2 separate regions of the Homo sapiens genome follow, and region 1 is linked to region 2. Evidence: promoter capture Hi-C in 16 types of primary human blood cells and fetal thymus (Javierre and others, 2016). All regions are on one chromosome and are shown on one strand. Each heading gives the region's core, a stretch centred on a gene start or on the middle of the fragment in contact. The rest is flanking DNA. Distances are from core to core; before and after follow the strand shown. Region 1 holds the start of FNDC10 (fibronectin type III domain containing 10). Region 2 holds the start of CDK11A (cyclin dependent kinase 11A).

Evidence for each region. Contacts are between HindIII fragments. The CHiCAGO score rates a contact against its expected background, and 5 or more counts as called.
Region 1: a contact is called between the fragment with the promoter of FNDC10 here and the fragment with the promoter of CDK11A in region 2, in 17 of 17 cell types (activated CD4 T cells, monocytes, endothelial precursors and 14 more). The highest score is 10.2, in activated CD4 T cells.

What each region holds. Positions count from the first base shown.
Region 1 is chr1:1,598,853-1,601,552 of GRCh38, forward strand. FNDC10 (fibronectin type III domain containing 10) reads right to left here and starts at 1,283. Exons shown (of 1, transcript NM_001242659.2): 1 at 1-1,283. The coding sequence starts at 1,163. The coding sequence ends at 483. LOC105378586 (a long non-coding RNA gene) reads left to right here and starts at 581. Exons shown (of 3, transcript NR_147951.1): 1 at 581-764; 2 at 1,805-1,854. RefSeq lists enhancers at 1-436, 437-1,096, 1,097-1,756, 1,757-2,416 and silencers at 890-1,009, 1,310-1,359. The HindIII fragment of the contact is 12,096 bases long and covers 1-2,700 here.
Region 2 is chr1:1,722,924-1,725,623 of GRCh38, forward strand. It overlaps CDK11A (cyclin dependent kinase 11A), which reads right to left and starts at 1,434. Exons shown (of 20, transcript NM_024011.4): 1 at 1,335-1,434. RefSeq lists enhancers at 1,317-1,546, 1,527-2,366. The HindIII fragment of the contact is 24,282 bases long and covers 1-2,700 here.

The DNA.
Region 1 (2,700 bases), core at 33-2,532, 120 kb before region 2:
CCGAGATACTAAGGCACGAAGCTAACCTAAGCCCAGTGGGGTGGGGCGGGGCAGGACAGGCTTGGAGAGCTGCGCCCCAGGCCTGCAAAGCACAGTGACCGAGCAATGGCGACGGTCTGTCTGGGACAATTCGGCACAGGATGGAGGTGCGGGGTGAGCCGGAGTGCCCATGGCTCTTGCTGGAAGGGGCTCCATGCCCTGGCCGCCTCTATAAAGGCCTGCGGAGAGCGGGGAGAGCCCTGGATGCGGCTGGCACAGCAGCGCAAGCCCAGGGGCCAATCCGGGGCCAGAGTCTGGGAGTCTGACGCCCGGCTGGAAAGGGCGTGTGATGATGCCAAAGTGCCGGAGCCGTCGCCGGCAGGTCCTCCTCCGCGGGGATCTTAAGGAGGCAGCAGGAATGAGGAGAGGAGAGCGGGCGGAGGACCTGGGAGCTCAGGCGCCCTCAGGCAGGTGGCGCAAAGATGGGCGGGCGGCCTCGCGCTTCAGGGGTGTCTGCGCAGGCCGGGGCGCGCGAGGGCCGGGCGCATGAGGTTCTCGGTGATGTAGGCCACCAGCAGGCAGATGACCACCAGCATGACGCAGATGGAGCCGCCCACCGCCGTCATGGCCACCACGATGTCCTGCATGCCGGCCGGCTCGGCGGTGAACTCCACGCACTCGGCCGGCTCGGGGGTCTCTGGCGCGGCGGCGGCGGGCCCAGCGCGCAGCGGCAGCGGCTGCAGGCACAGGCGGTAGAGGACGCTGTCGTGCACGTCGGGCAGCAGGTAGTCGCGGCAGGAGGCCCCGAGGAGCACGCGCTCGCACGGGAAGCGCGTGTAGGCGCCGCGCCACGAGCAGTTGAGCGCGAAGGCGCGCACGCGGCGCGCGGCGGCCGGGGCCAGGCGCCACTGCAGGAGGACGCTGCGGTTGCGCAGGACGCTGGCGCGCAGGGAGCGGCCGGCCGGGGCGTGCAGCACGCAGCCCGGAGCCTGGCAGCGGAAGCCGCGCGCGGGGCTGCGGAAGCACAGGCGCCCGCCGCCCGCCTCGGGGCCCTCGGGCAGCACCTTGTAGGGGCACCAGGGCGCGTCGGGGGTCGGCTCCCAGCCCGGCGGCGTCGGGGCGGCCGCGGCGCAGGGCGGCGGCGCGCAGGCGGCCAGCAGCAGCAGCAGCGGCGGGGCGCGCATCCTGCGGCGGGGCCACGGGGCGCGGCGCTGGGTCACGCGGGCCGCGCCGCCGCCGTCCCCGCTGCCCGCTCCCCGCGATCCCCGGCGCGCCGCGCCCTCCGCCGCCGCCCGCTCCGACCCGCCCCCGCGCCCCGTGCGCGCTCGGACCCGGCGCGGCGGCGGAGGCGGGGCCGCCCCTCGCCCCGCCCCCCTTAACCCTCGCCGGGCCGCGGCCTACGGGTGCGGGGGATCGGGGGTGGGGGGGAGGAGGGGGACGCAGCGAGGCGGCCGGAGTGCCGGTGGGGCTGGGGTGCGGGCAGGGGCGCGGGGTGCGGGCAGGGCCGCCGCTCTCCCGGCTTCCCGCCTAGTGAGCGCACCTTGGACCCCTGCGGCTTTTCCGAGCCGAAACTCACGGGCTGTGGCCGGCTTCGTTTCGCGTCGTGCAGCTCCGCGACCGCCCGTGGCCACACCAGTCGGGGACTTCGTGCTTTACGATGGGGGCGCAGCGGTCTGGCACGCGCAGGACCCCGGGCCTTGCACCCCAACGCTGGCCGCCCTGGACCCGCGGCGGGGACCCGCGCAGTCAGGGTACCTGCCCATACCGATGGGGTGGGGACCAGCACGGAGACTTTCCTTCACCCCGCGGCTTCTGTTCCTTTCAGGACGGACAGCGCCCACCCGGAGGAAAGCCTGACAGATGAGACTTCGCAAGGTGAGAACTCCCTTCGCTCCACACGCAGCGGAGGCAGCTGCAGGGCGCCGACCTTCCCTGCCTCATTGCGCCCCCTCCTCCTCCAGATGCGCTCTGGGGGGCCCTCCCGATGGCTGTGGGGAGGTCAGGGCTGGACAAAGGGAATCCAAAAAGCCCACCCGGTGCACTGAGTAGGTGGCACCGACGGGGGAGGGGAAGGCGGGACACACCCCAAGACCCCTGCCCCTCATTCCCGTCCCTGCATAGATCACCCAGCAACCAGGACACCCCTCCAGGGCCAGGACTACAGCCAGGGACTGTGTATGCAGACGTGGCCGGGCCTGGCCGGCCTGCCCTAACTGGAAAGGAGGCCAAGCCTCGCACCTAAGGCTGGGCTGGCACCTCCGCTGAGCCAGCTCTGGGTCTGCAGGGGTTGTGGGGGGCTCTCTGGCAACTGGACCATGAGTTCCTGCAACCCCTTCCTGTGCTCTCCTTGCCTGGGGGCAGAGTGAGGAGAGACTGGCTATTCTGCTCACGGTGTCCTTGGTCCCCGACCTCTGGATGGCCATGTCTCCGCCCCCCCACGGAGTCACCACCCAGCCTCACGAATTCCTGGTCATCTTGAAAAACCCAGTGCAGTGGTCAGGACCCCACAGGATCTCAGGGGCTCTGCCAGAGCCCCGGCCCAGCGGTCAGGCCCCCACCAACTGTGGTCACGGTGCACCTCCGTCCCCGGCATGGAGGGCCCTGACCCCCTACACCAGCCTGTTGGGCCCCTGGCAGGGTCTGCTGAGGCCTCTGCACCTGGCGCAGAGAGGTTGGGGGCAGAGACCTTGGGAGAGGCGCTCCCTGCCCCCTGCCCCCAGC
Region 2 (2,700 bases), core at 184-2,683:
AAATCCTCATTAAGAATAAGAAGTTGTGCCCGGCGCAGTGGCTCAAGACGGTAACCCTAGCACTTTGGGAGGCCGAGGCGAGCAGATCGCTGGAGTTCCGGAGTTCAACACCAGCCCGGGCAACATGGCAAAACCTCGTCTCTACAAAAAATACAAAAGTTAGCCCAGTGTGGTGGCGCGTGCCTGTATTCCTAGCTACAGGAAGGAGGCTGCTAGAGGCAGGAGGATCACTTGAATCAGAGAGGTCAAGGCTGCAATGAGCCAAGACTGCGCCACTGCACTCCAGCCTAGATAACAAAGTAAGACTTGGTTAAAAAAAAAAAAAAAAAAAGGTAAGCTCTAGGCTGAGGCGGGTGGATCACAAGGTCGGGAGGTCAAGACCAGCCTGGCCAACACGGCGAAAACCCTGTCTCCACTAAAAATACAAAACTTAGCTGGGCGTGGTGGCGGGTGCCTGTAATCCCAGCTACTCGGGAGGCCGAGGCAGCAGAATCGCTTGAATCCGAAAGGCGGAGGTTCCGGTGAGCCGAGGTCGCGTCACTGCACTCCAGCAAGACCCCGTCTCAAAAAAAAAAAAAAAAAAAAAAAAAAAAAAAAAAACAAGAATGATAAGTTGTAAGCCAGGCAAGGTGGCGAGCGCCTGTAGTCCCATATACTCTGCAAGCTGAGATGGGAGACCGATTGAGCCCAGGAGTTCCAGGCTGAAGTGCGCTTGTGAACAGCCACTGCGCTGCAGCATGGGCGACAAAAAAGAGTGATGGGTTCTGAAAAATGACCGCTTGAAATCAAGTCTCGTTTCTGTCATTCTTGTATGGTCTTGGGTAACGTAATTCACCTCAGTTCAGTCTTCCGTACAACCAGAATAACAACACCTACGTGATAGTATCGATCGCGGATTAAAGATCATCCGTTTAAAGGCTCTTAACTCAGGACCTGCCACTCATCAAACACTGCTTTTACTGTCAGAATCTGCTAGAAAGACCGCTTGGACTACGTGAAGCCACTAGCACACTGGACAGCTGCACCTTGAGACCGGGGAGATGCTCCGAGATGTGCTCGCGAACAAGGCCACCTGACCCGGGCACTGGGCTATTTCCTCGGGTTCAGTCCCGCACACTTGAGGTTCAGCCTGGCAGACGTTGGCTCCAGACAGCGTTTGGACCCGCCGCCTCCACCACCCAAAGTTCCGTGCGGGATGAGACTGTCCGCGGAAGCGAGGGTGTCGCTCGCCCCCGGGCCCGGGTCCGCCCCGCTCCGAGGCCTGCTCGGAAGAAAGACCTCGGTGCGCAGTTCTCGTCGCGCTCCCACACCTGGTCCGCCCAGTCGGAACTCACCCCTACGGGGCCGCGGCCGGTCCCTGAGCCTGAGAAGAAACAGCAACCGGCGCTCGCCAGAAGTATCCTCACTTCCTGTGTTGACGCCTAATGATGATATAATAGCCGACCTCTGGCCCAGAACTCAAGACGACAGGGGCTCGCTCTGTGCGGCACTTCCTGTGTCTGCGCGGGATGATGACGCATAAAACAGCGCTTGCTCAGGTCCAGGACTCCAAAAGAAACTGCGCCGTGAGCTGCACTTCCGACTTCGGCGCGGGCCGGGGCGCCGAGCAGAGCGACGCCGACTTTTGGAGCAGTTTGCGCCTGCGCGGAACGCGTGGCCGGCTTCCGGAATCCTACCGGGACTTTTCCGGTAGCGAAGCCCGCGCCTGTGCCAAGGCTTGCGAGCAGAATGCCTTCGCGATGGACGCCCGCATTCCACCCCCTTGACCGCTGGGACCCCTAGTGGCGGGTGGGTGGAGCGCGCTCCATTTACCTGCTGGTTACCTCGTGAGGCGCCTCAGGTCTGTGTGTCTTGTAAAGGCCGATCTCGGAATTTAACTCTGAACCTTACTCAGAAACAAAGCAGGGAGAGCTCTTACGATGTGATTTTATTTTATTTATTCATGTATTTACTTTTGAGTCGGAGCCTTGCTCTGCCGCCCAGGTTGGAGTGCAGTGGCGTGGTCTTGGCTCACTGCAGCCTCCTCCCGGGTTCAAGGAATTTTCCTGCCTCAGCCTCCCGAGTAGCTGGAACCACAGGCCCGCGCCACCACGCCCGGCTAATTTTTATATTTTTGGTAGAGACGAGGTTTCGCCATATTGGCCAGGCTGGTCTCGAACTCCTGACCTCAAGTGATCCGCCTGCTTCGTCCTCCTAAAGTGCTGGGATTACAGGCGTGAGCCACCGCGCCGGGCCTTTTACAATGTGATTTTGAAGCTGACACTGGCAGTGGGTCCTCAAAGTGCAGACTCACTGGGTATGGTGCTTCCCCCAACTCCCAGGGCCCCACTCCAAACCCATGGATTCAGAGCATTGCAGGAGAAGAGGATAAAACGAGCAATTAATTCCCTTTCCATATGTCAGGTTTTCCTCTTGCCTTGAAAAGTCACAGAAAAATGCTTTAGACATCTGAATCTCAGGAAACAAACAATGGAAGATAAACATCCGCATTTACTGGGCCTGAAATGGGAAAATGAAAGATGTGGCAAGAAACTGACAAGGGCCCAAGAAGGGCGATGGGTATCGGAATTCTTTTCATCCCGGAATGAAATGCTGCTTGCTTTGTGTACCCAAGCTCTTTTTTTATTTTTATTTTTTTGAGACGGAGTCTCGCTCTGTTGCCCAGGCTGGAGTGCAGTGGCGCGATCTCGGGTCACTGGA